Linked DNA regions of Homo sapiens: region 1 is linked to region 2. Evidence: promoter capture Hi-C in 16 types of primary human blood cells and fetal thymus (Javierre and others, 2016). All regions are on one chromosome and are shown on one strand. Each heading gives the region's core, a stretch centred on a gene start or on the middle of the fragment in contact. The rest is flanking DNA. Distances are from core to core; before and after follow the strand shown. Region 1 overlaps CCNT2 (cyclin T2). Region 2 holds the start of PTPN18 (protein tyrosine phosphatase non-receptor type 18).

Region 1 (5,642 bases), core at 2,132-4,631, 4.6 Mb before region 2:
CTTGAGAGGCTGAGGCAGGAGAATTGCTTGAACTGCATATTGTCACTAAGCACAAGCCTTAACTTCACTTTTAACTTTTAATAACAAATAGGTGAACTTCTACAGTTCTCATCCATTTCTTTTCTGTATCAGCTCCAAATAATTTAGAGAAAAATTCACGTTACATGTATTTCCTTATGTATAGCCATATAAAGAGTATGTAATATGTCACTAACAATCAGAGCCTTAGCTTATTTAGGGGTAAAATATTAGGTTAACACCAGAAAATGTAGAGTGGTAAGGAGATTCCATCATTTCCCCTAATCCCTAGAACATGTGTAAATATGTACTCCCTAGAATGTATATGTATGTTTATAATAAAATGCAGTTATCTAATTGGATTTTCACTTAAAAAATTACCTTAACCAATTTTAGCTATTAATACTAAAAACAAAACTCCTGTTCTGCAATGGCCTTGAAAATCAGTTTATAAACTATATAAAATCTGTCTGATTTTATACTGAGACATTTGCATGCCTTGGCCAATGCAAACACTCAATGCACATTTGTTAATATATTAACCTATTCTACTCTATACACCTAAGTTTAGAATTTGTTATGGTTTGAAAGCGCCTTGGATCTTGCAGGACTGGGTTCACTCTCTTGCACTCCTGCCATGCGATGACTCAACAAAAAGGATGAGCCAGGACCACAGAGAAGCATATAAATTACCAAGGCTAAAATATACATGTATCTGTGTGTGCAGAGAAAAGGTATGAGTTATTTCACAATCATTTAATTTTGCAAAAAAAAATTTTAAGCCGCTTCAGGAATACTTCATAAGACTTCTATAATAATACAGAGTCACTGAAGTCAGTATCCCTGTAATTAGGCAGATAAGAGCAGCATGTTTCAAAATAACATTTAAAGCTTTCTGGGGAAGTTCTAGAGTAGCTTTCAGAATTAATTTGAGAAAATCAATCAAAAATATCATATATTCTTTGTAATGCCTATTAATAAATGAACTCTCCCACAGCTTCCTTATTTAACAGAAACTTCAAGTGATTTATTCTTTTTAAAAAATCAACTTCATCTTACACTCATTTCCAGTGGGACCACAATAGGCTGTCATTTAAATGTACTTATAAATACTTCTGGAAAGATGAAGTCCCACTGGAAATGAGTGTATCATCTTCTGAATGAAGGTAAACTTTTAGTGATTTACCTGAAGAATTCTGAGTTGATGGCTGCAGAGGGGATACTTAAATCCCCACAGAAAAACAGAGCAACAAGATAGCAAAACCAAAACCCCATGGATAGCTACAACCAAATCACATGACAAGCCATTCCTAGGGAATTCCTAACACATACGAATGAGGAAAAAACAGGCTACTATGTCAACATACACAGCACAGTGCAACAAGATGCAAAGGAATGGGGCATGTGCTGGACTTGATATAAGAAGAACCTCAAAGAGCCAAAAGACATTCACTGGAAATCATGGCAGGCCAATGTGAGAAGAGCAGCTAGCACTGGGAGTTTTGCCAGTCCAATAAGTAGATGGATGCAAGAGACCTACAGTAAGGATTAAAAGACCGAAGCTAACTTCTACGAACTTTTGAAATTGATCTTCCAAGGTTCTCTTCCAAGACTCCAGTTTGAAGAGAAACCATTGGGAGGAAAAGCACAATCAGCAAGATAGGAAGAAGGGAAAAGAGAAACTAAAAATGTGGAGGGGAAGAGGGCCAGAAACTCCCAGAAAGTAAGCTGCTACACTTCTGAACATTACACAAAATAACAGAAAAGGGAGCTCTGTGAAATTATTAAAGCACTCTGAAGGTACATCACCTTTTTAAAGTTCAGGAAAGCTAATATCTCACAAAAATGAGTAACCGAAGAGTATTCAGTTCACACAAAGACTGTAAGAAAAGACTAGAAGAGTGGTGCTTAAAGTGACAAATCACACTGGAAAGAGCTGCTTTAGGCTGAGTGTTGGGAGGCTGAGGCAGGAGGACTGCTTGAGTCCAGGGGTTTAAGAACGGCCTGGGCAACATGGTGAGACCCCTGTCTCTACAAAAAATTAAAAAAATTAACTGTGTGGTGGCATGTGCCTGTAATTCCAGCTACTTGGGAGGCTAAGGTGGGGGAATCACTTGAACCCAGGAGGTTGATGCTGCAGTGAGCCATGATTGTGCCACTGCACTCCAGCCCGGGTGTCAGAGGGAGACCTAGTCTCAAAAAAAAAAAAAAAAAAAAAAAAGGCAGCTATCCAAGTTTCCAATATTATTGGAATCTAGAGTTACCATATGATCCAGCAATTCTACTCCTGGGTATAAGCCCAAGAGAAACCAAAAACACAAGTCTACACAAAAACTTGTACACAAATGTTCTTAAGAGCACTATTCATATTAGCCAAAAAGTGGCTAACAATCCAAATGCCCACCAACTGATGAACATATATATATAATGTGGTCTAGCCATACAGTGGAATAATGGGTAGTACAGCAAGAAAAGTAAACAACCTACTGAATAAATACAACAACATAGATGAGCCTTGAAAACACGGTAAGTGAAAGAAGTCAGTCACAAAGGACAACATACTGTAGGATTCCATTAATGAAATGTCTATTAATAGGCTGGGGGAAAAATAGGGAGAAATGACTGCGGGGTTGGGGGTTTCTTTTTGGTGTAGTGAAGACTTCTAAAAATTGATGCACACCTCTGTGAATATTCTTAAAAAAACCCACAAACCCCACGGAATCATACTTTCAATGGGTGAAATGTACAATATGTGAATTATATCACAAAAAGGGCAAAAATCCAGTAATTATCCTATATGATACGTGCCACTGGGTGTCCATATGAGATGAATCAAGAATTCCAATACAAAAATACCAATTTGTAAGAAAGAAATGACAGAATTAGAGTATCACCAATGAATGAAAGGACCCAGGCATTGAATATCAGCAGCCACTAACACTACAAAGAGAGACAACCAGACTTTAGACCTTCTGACCAAAGAACATTAACACCATCTATAGCCTTGCCTAAGGGATCTAACAGGAGTCTGATTAAGTTTCTGGATCTAATCATCAATTTTTCCAGGAATGCAAGAAAAAAGGAACACAGTAAACTGCACCATGAGTATACAATCAGCAAAATTCAGACAGTTGGAAACTCTACAGGTCACACACTCTAGGGTCCTTCAACAGCTACAACTTAGTTGACATAAAAAGATGGAGGGGAAACATGCATACTGAGAGACTTCAAAGACTTACCAAATTTTTAATAATGAGCAAGGTCTATGGTATTTGGGAATGCAGAGTTGGGTGCTAAAACTATAAAGAAAGTGATTAGAGTAAGAATACTGGGGCCGGGCGAGGTGGCTAACGCCTGTAATCCCAGCACTTTGGGAGGTCGAGGTGGGGGGAATCACGAGGTCAGGAGTTTGAGACCAGCCAGACCAACATGGTGAAAACCCGTCTCTACTAAAAATACAAAAATTAGCTGGGCATGGTGGTGCATGCCTGTAATCCCAGCTACCCAGGAGGCTAAGGCAGGAGATTCACTTGAACTCAGGAGGCGGAGGTTGCAGCGAGCCGAGATTGCACCACTGCACTCCAGCCTGGGCGACAAGACCAGACTCCTATCTCAAAAAAATAAAAAAGAATACTGGTTACTTTTGGAGGGAGGGGATCGACACTGAGTTGAGCACGTGGAGACATTCCGGGGTAGTTGGCAAAGTTCTATTTCTTGACTTGGTTGGTGATTACAAGGTTGTTTTATAATAATCCACTATACATTTGTTTGGTGGTTTTATATATTTTACAATTAAAAAGAAAACACTCATCTCATATATGTACAGTTACACTACAGCACTATAAACTCCCAAATAGATGGAATACAACTGGATGTGAATAAGATTCAAAGGTAAGATCAGAGAGATAAATTCACAAATGGAAAAGAGAGTTATCTGGGGAATGCTTTATGAAAGAGTAGCAACTTCAGCTGAGTCTTAAAACCTGACAGAGCACAGTCACATGAAAGCAAAGAGAAAGCACCCTAAGGAAAAACAGTGATACACAATGCATAAATGCTAACACTGATGTATAGTTGAAAAAGAGGAATTTGGGACTTATAAAGAGGACCTCATTGGATTTAGTGCAATGAGGCGGGCAAATAAAAATCTGAGGTTTTTTCATTGTTTACTTTATAAATCTTACAAATCACTGGCATAAATTGCTACTGTGCTCTACTTCTGAAATATACTAGAACAGGAAAAAGTGAGAACTACAGTTTGGGATTAAGCAAAGGACTTGGGTTCAAATCCCAGCCACGTAATAGTTTTAATTTCGGACAAGTCACTTGGTAACTGCGTCTGCTTCCTTAGGAGAATACTTTACCTGAGAAAACAAGACAAATATAAAGTGCCTGGCATAGTGAGATCTTAATAAAATTTCAACCAGGTAATTTATAGTTTAAAAGGAATTTAAAAATCATCTAGGCTAATCGTCTCAAATTTACAGGTTAGTACCTACTACATTGAAGAGCACAGATACACAAAACTTGCGCTATGCAGAAAGTTCTACTGGACAGCACTGCAGTATTTCCAAGTAATGCTAATGGATCTTGGGCATAAGATTATTGTTGGATTAATTATTGCTTTATTAAACTAAAAGGCAGAAAGAGAAGTAAGCTATAAACACCTGCTTAGACTTCACAATGAAACATATGCTGATTTGACTTCTGTAAAACATGACCAGAGTATAACAATGAATTGAAATGAACAGGAGAAAAAGCAAAATTTATTTATTTTTATTATTATTATTATTGTTTTTTGAGATAGAGTCTCGTTCTGTTGCCCAGGTTGGAGTGCAGTGATGTGATCTCGGCTCACTGCAACCTCCACCTCTCAGGTTCAAGTGATTCTCCTGCCTCAGCCTCCCCAGTAGCTGGGATTACAGGCACGTGCCACCACACCCAGCTAATTTTTATATTTTTAGTAGAGATGGGGTTTCATCATATTGGCCAGGCTGGTCTTGAACTCCTGACCTCAAGGGATCCGCCCACTTCAGCATCCCAAAGTGCCGGGATTACAGGCATTAGCTACCATGCCAGGCCCTACAATAGCTTTAAATCTTGCATATTATACATGGAGTTCTGATTGCTAGAGCTCAAGAAAGAGGCAATGGAAGTAAGAGAAGATGGAAAAGATCAAATAAATTGGAGATGTGCTATGAGAACAGACCATGACCAACAAAAATACTTAGAAAAGGGTGTGCTCTTTACAACCTAATCTTAAGAGACCTGGAACTGGTATAAGAAAAAAAATGCATCACAAAAGACCAAATTAGGAGTTTGTAAGAGAAGCTGGGTCAATATCTACTTAAGTGTGACTTGGGGGGTGGGTGCTTTCCCTCAGTATATACCTTGGCATCACTTTTGGCTCCAGGGCTTTTACACTTTACTAAATTTATTTTTGAGCTTGATCCAGCAAGGCCATTCTTTATTAATTCCAATTACATGAACCTCATTGCATCTAGTGAACAAAGTGTAGATTTATCTAATTAGGCTACATATAAAAGTCATTTACTGCTGACAGCTATTCAACTCTGAGTAACTGACAAAAGAACTCAATGATAAGAGACCATTTCTGGGTCACC
Region 2 (5,918 bases), core at 1,610-4,109:
GGAGCACACGCCGTCAGCCTTCCAGGCGGCCGAGCAGGCCTGGATGTCCTGGTAGAGCATTATGAGTGGGTCAGGGAGGGGAGAAGACAGGAGAGGAGCCAGGTCAGAGTCCCAGGCCACCTAGGCACGCTTGCAGGATACAAAGCCAGTGGCCTGGGGAGGTGAGTGCAGACCCTGATGGCACTGGGCCTGCCTAATAATAATGATACCGAAATAGTGACCCAGGGCACCTTCTCTGTGCCACTCTCTGTGCTAAGGGCATGTAATCATCACAGGTTCCTACGACGTGGGTACTATTATTGACGTCCCCATTGTGCAGGCGGGAAAGTTTATGCACCACGTGGTTCAGCGACTTGTGGAAGGTCCCAACCAGGAAGTCACACGGTGAGGGTTGAACTCAGACCCTCTCGGCACCCACCCCCTGCACACTCAATCTGTGACATTGTCTTGTAAGCAATAACTGTAATGAAATATATTATGGGCTATGTAGCTAAACATATAAGACAATGTACAATGAATGCATAGGCATTATAATGGATAACATATTATGTACAAGATACTATAGGCACTGTGTTACTGGGAGATTATAATAATAATTAGTGAATCGTGTATTACCATCATCGTCAGGTATTCGTAATCTCAATGATAATAAGTAACACCCATGCCACCACTGTGTGCCAGCCACTATTCTAAGTGCTTTACTTGTGTCCATTGGGTCATTTAAGCCCTCATGATGCCCTTGTGTAGTGGGAACACCTAGAAGAGCGCAGTGATTCCTGCACATGCGGGAGGCAGGCTTGGGGAGCAGGGGTGCCCTCGCCACCCAGCCTTCCGCATGTGAGGCCCTCCGCACTGTACACGGTTCAGAACCCACCCAGTCGCATGATGTCATATATCACATGGGTATTATGTTTACATTTGTTACACACATTCTTATATTGTATAATTATATATTTTACATTTATTATGCATTTCTTAGTTTCTTATATACAATGTTTCTACATGTGTGTAAATTACTTAGGTTTATAATTATCTGTTACTTTTTTTTTTTTTTTTTTTGAGATGGAGTCTCGCTCTGTTGCCCAGGCTGGACTGCAGTGGCGCGATCTCGGCTCACTGCAAGCTCCGCCTCCCGGGTTCACGCCATTCTCCTGCCTCAGCCACCCGAGTAGCTGGGACTACAGGCGCCCGCCACCACGCCCAGCTAATTTTTTGTGTGTTTAGTAGAGACGGGGTTTCACCGTGTTAGCCAGGATGGTGTGGATCTCCTGACCTCGTGATCCGCCCGCCTCGGCCTCCCAAAGTGCTGGGATTATAGGCGTGAGCCACCGTGCCCGGCCATCTGTTACATATTTTATATCTACTTATGAATTTATCAAATAACTTTGGTCATTTTATAAATTATAATCTTTGTTATATTCATTTGTTGTATTGTTTTATGCAGTTATGCAATGTTTATTGTATAAACGGTCATTTATAATACTTTTATATATTTGTCATATTTCTAAACTTGATACATGTCACCATATATCAGTTTATGCGTTTGTATGGTATGTTTCTATGTCTGGTACATAAGCGATTACACTTTAAACACGTCATCAACTGTAATGTACAGTGCCTAGCATTCTGCGTGAGCCTTCCTAATGCTGGGCTTGCACTACCTGTATTGTAACGTTTAGATTTTTTGTTTGGTTTTGTTTTGTTTGAGATGGGATCTCACTCTGTGGCCCAGGCTGGAGTGCAGTGGCACCATCTCAGCTGTGCAGTGGAACCATCTCAGCTCACTGCAACCTCTGCCTCCCAGGTTCAAGCGAGTCCCCTGTCTCTGCTCCCTAGTAGCTGGGATTACAGGCATGCGCCCATGCCCAGTTGATTTTTGTATTTTTAGTAGAGACGGGGTTTCGCTGTGTTGCCCAGGCTGGTCTCGAACTCCTGAGCTCAAGCGATCCTCCCACCTCGGCCTCCCAAAGTGCTGGGATTACAGGTGTGAGCCACCGCACCTGGCCCACGTTTAGAATCTTTATAGGCAGTGACGAACGCCCCTACGAAGTGTGCGCCCAATATGTACTAAGTGCTTTTCACCCACATCATTTAATCCTTAGACCAGTTTGGTCATTCATGTCCCCATTTCACCAAGGGAGAAGCCGAGGTCAGAGGGGCCAGGTAGACCGCCTGGACCACACGCGGATGGCCGGGACGCGGATTCGGGACGGGAAGCGGATTCGGGCCCGGACGCGGATTCGAGCCCGGCGTTCACACCCTCACCACGCCACAGCCTCCGTGTTCCTCTTCGCCCTGCTGCAGCCCCTTCCTTCCTGTGGTCACAGGGGACAGTCAGGTCGCCAGAAGCGGCGGGGCCGGGGCTGTCCAGCGCAGCAGGGCCGCCCGCCCTCCCCTGCGGCGCCCGCCCCACCTGTCCCGCCCGCAGCCAGGTTGTTCCGGGAGCGCGACGAGGACACCGGGAACGAGGGTGTGCACGGTCCGTCCCGGCCTGGCCGTGGACGTCGCGCTCCGGGGCCGGGGGGCAGAGAGTGAAGACGGAGACAGCAAGAGCGACAGAGAAGTGCTGGGGAGAGAAACACGGAGAGACCCCCCGAGGCGGGGAGACACCGGGGACACCGAGACAGAAAGGCAGAGCCCGCCGTGCGCGGAGGACAGGCGTACGCAGGGCCAGGGCCGGGGCGCGCCGCTCGCGGACCCCGTGTGCCACTCACGCTGAACTCGCCGGCGAGGACTGCCCCCTCCCGGCCGCCCCGCGCTTCCAGCCGCTCCAGGAAGCTCCGCGCCGAGTCCAGGCTGCGGCTCATGGCGCCGCGGGCCAGCAAGGTCCAGCCCGGCCGCCGCGCGCGCGGCGAGTGTGGACGCCGCGGGAGGCGGAGGCCGGTGACTGAGTCCCCGCCCTTGCCTCGGCAGCCAATGGAAGCGCGCAGCGGCGGGCAGGGCGCCCCAGCCACCGTGTTCTGAGCCCGCGTAGCCCCACCCCGGGCGCTCGGGCCGCTGTGGCCGGAGCCCTAGGTCCTCGCGGGCTGCCCTGAGCAGAGTCCAGCGCCGGCGCTTCCCCTTTTTTTCGGCTGCCGCGCCCACTGGTGGGGGGGTGGCACGGTCCCAGGTTCGCTCCCTGCCGCTTGGGACCCGCCCTCAGATCGGGATCCGCGCCCAGGGGCCGACCTCCGGGTGCCGGCTCTGGGTGGACGGCCGAGCGGTCTCGCCGGGCCCTCCCGCCCGTCCCCTGGGAGCCAGGCCGCGCGGAGTCCGAGCTGGGGCGGGCAGCAGCCTTGGGTGGAGACGGTCGCCGAGATCAGGCTGCCCCTCGTGCCAGAGGACCCCGGGTCGGGGGCGTCCCGCGCTGTGCGCTCCAGCCGGGCCCAAGGGAGGCCGGGGAGGGGCAGCCACGCCGTGGGAAAGGCCAAGTGGCAGCGGGATCTTCTCTGTGTATTTCCCGAGGAATTTGTGGTTCCTTTTTCCCGGATGCGCTGGGGCACCAGGGTCAGTCCTGTGTGAGCATCTCGACCTGCACAAGCCTGCTGGGAAACAGAACTGAGGCACTGGAAGTGGGTTCTGGGGAACGAAGAGCTTCTCTTTTTTGCCTGCCCTGACACTCCCATCTTCAGAAAGTGTGCAGAGGTCAGAGGAGAGCCGCCGTTCCAGCTTCCGGGATCACCGAGGGGAGGCTGGAGAGAATGGACTGGCACCTGGGTCTCTTCAAGGACAGGCCTAGGTTAGCCCCCTTCTCGCCGAGGTCGGAAGAATTAAGAGGGGTGTCACTGGAAGGGGCGTCAGTGGACACCAGTTTGAGGTCGTTGAGGGGTTGAAAGGTAGCATTGGGGCCTGGATGTGTGCCTGAGTCTCTGAAGGGTCAACAGGGGCATGATGTCAGGTGGTCAATTTAATTCACTAGGGGCTATCAGAGTATTTAAGGGCACACTTTCTTAAAGGTCCCGGTAGGAAGTGGTTTTGGCTTTGCTATCGCTGCCCCAGCTGCTTAACTCAGCTGTGGCAGCATGAAAGCAGACAATATAGTGTGGCTGTGTCCCAAAGAAACCATTTATGGACAAAGAAATCAGAATTTCATGTAATGTTCATGTGTCATGAATTATTCTAGTGTGTGTGTGTGGCCTACAGGCTGTCGTTTGCTGACCTTGGCTGAAGTGATGGAGCGATCAAAGTGGCTCTGTGGGGATCAGCAGCTAGGGCTGTTTGATTTATCGTGGGGTCCGCAGGGGTCACTGTGAGATTCATGTTCATCATTTATCAGTTTCATCTTTGAGCATTCTCAGGGAGGTAATTGTTTAGGATGGTGGTGATAGGGAATTCATTGGAAGCCAGTCGGGGTCCCTTGGATGTTCATGGGGGGGGGGGTGTCAGTAGATATTAATGACAGTCATTGGGAGGCCAGTGGATACTTGGGACAAGAAGTGAAAGTAATTGTGGGGCCATTGGGATTTGGAGTGTTAGTAATTGAAGGGTCCGAAGAGTCTGGGAAGTCATTGAGAGCTCTGCTCAGTGCATGATAGTGACTCTCAGTATAATCATTGAGGGTTTGTGGATGGCCATGGAGATCCAGGGAGGTAGAATACAGAAGCATCAGTAAGCTTTCAGAAAATAAAGACATTTTCTGGGAAAATGTGAGCCCCTGAGCACACATGGTTATTCAGGGCAGTCTTTATGGGCTAGAGGATCTCTGTCCAGCAGCAGGGATCCTGTTGAGGGCCTGTCCTCATAGGCTGAGGTCTGTCTGACTGGTGGAGGGCATGTCGTCCAGCTGAAGGTCTGGTTGACTAGGTGGGTGGGGTGTTCTCTCCTCTGGGGTAATGTCTCTGTCCATTTTGGGGAGGGCACCTGTCCTTGAGGGATTCTGACCTTTGCCTGGCTGGGGGGCCCAGGTGTCTCTCTGGCCACAGGCCTATTTGGATGTCTGGCTGAGGGTCTACCCATCTGTCAGTAATCTGTCTGTTTGTCCAGCTGGGTGTTTCCCTGGGATTCTGTCCATCTGGAAGTCTGTCCAGCCAGGGTGTGTGTGTGTGTGTGTGTGTGTGTGTGTGTTTGGTGGTTTGTCTATTAGAGGATCTGAGTGACTAGCCAGATGCTGCCTTGTGGCCTGTGAACATTAAGTGGCTGAGGCTGTAGTCTGCCATTTGTACTTCCAGCTGCCTTGAGTGTCTTTCTGTCCTCGTGTTCACCCTCACTCCAAGCCCCACCTTGTTGTTTAACCCACCTGTCCTCCTGACACCTGACCGTTCCTCATGTCTCTCCAAACATCCAAACTCTTAGCTTGCCCTCTGTTCAGCTCAGGCTAGGTGTGGGGGATGGGAAGACCCCACATCTTCCAGAGGCCCTGGCCCACCCCGGCTTTTCTCTCCCGGAGGACTGCCAGCTGTGTTCTTGCAATGAGACTCACTGCTGCTGGTGGCCCTCCTGTTCACGCTGCCAGCAGCAGTCTTGCACAGTGGGAGCTGCTGGCACTGCTACAGAGACCCCAAGTGTACCAAAGCCCACGTGCCATGTGCCAGTCTGTCACCTGCCCACCAGTCAGTGTGGCTACATGGGCCGCTCAACAGAGCCAAGAGGACAAGGTAGAGGAAGATGCACAGGGACAGGTGCACAAGGCTGTGAGTTCAGCCTGCTCTGAGCCTGCAAAGGGGAAAAGAGAAACTACAGTGGAGACCCCTGGCAGACACCCCTTCCTCTGGGATGCTTGCGGGGAGCTCCTTGGAGACTGCTGGCATCTCCAGGGTACAGTTCTTCTCCAGCTTCCTTTTTTGCTTAGTTAAAAAAGGGCAGAGACCATCCTGGCTAACACAGTGAAACCCCGTTCTCTATTAAAAGTACAAAAAATTAGCCGGGCGTGGTGGCGGGCACCTGTAGTCCCAGCTGCTCGGGAGGCTGAGGCAGGAGAATGGCTTGAACCCGGGAGGCGG

What was found. The method cuts DNA at HindIII sites, captures the fragments that hold promoters and counts their contacts. A CHiCAGO score of 5 or more calls a contact.
Region 1: a fragment that was not itself captured here is called in contact with the fragment with the promoter of PTPN18 in region 2 in 1 of 17 cell types (neutrophils); the score reaches 9.0 in neutrophils.

What each region holds. Positions count from the first base shown.
Region 1 is chr2:134,922,457-134,928,098 of GRCh38, reverse strand. All of the region lies in intron 2 of CCNT2 (cyclin T2), which reads right to left. Among named protein-coding and RNA genes, the nearest start is that of CCNT2, 6.5 kb to the right of the region's middle. The HindIII fragment of the contact is 4,940 bases long and covers 912-5,642 here.
Region 2 is chr2:130,352,997-130,358,914 of GRCh38, reverse strand. PTPN18 (protein tyrosine phosphatase non-receptor type 18) reads right to left here and starts at 2,859. Exons shown (of 15, transcript NM_014369.4): 1 at 2,715-2,859; 2 at 1-48. The coding sequence starts at 2,807. RefSeq lists silencers at 2,420-2,469, 2,610-3,279. The HindIII fragment of the contact is 15,291 bases long and covers 1-4,594 here.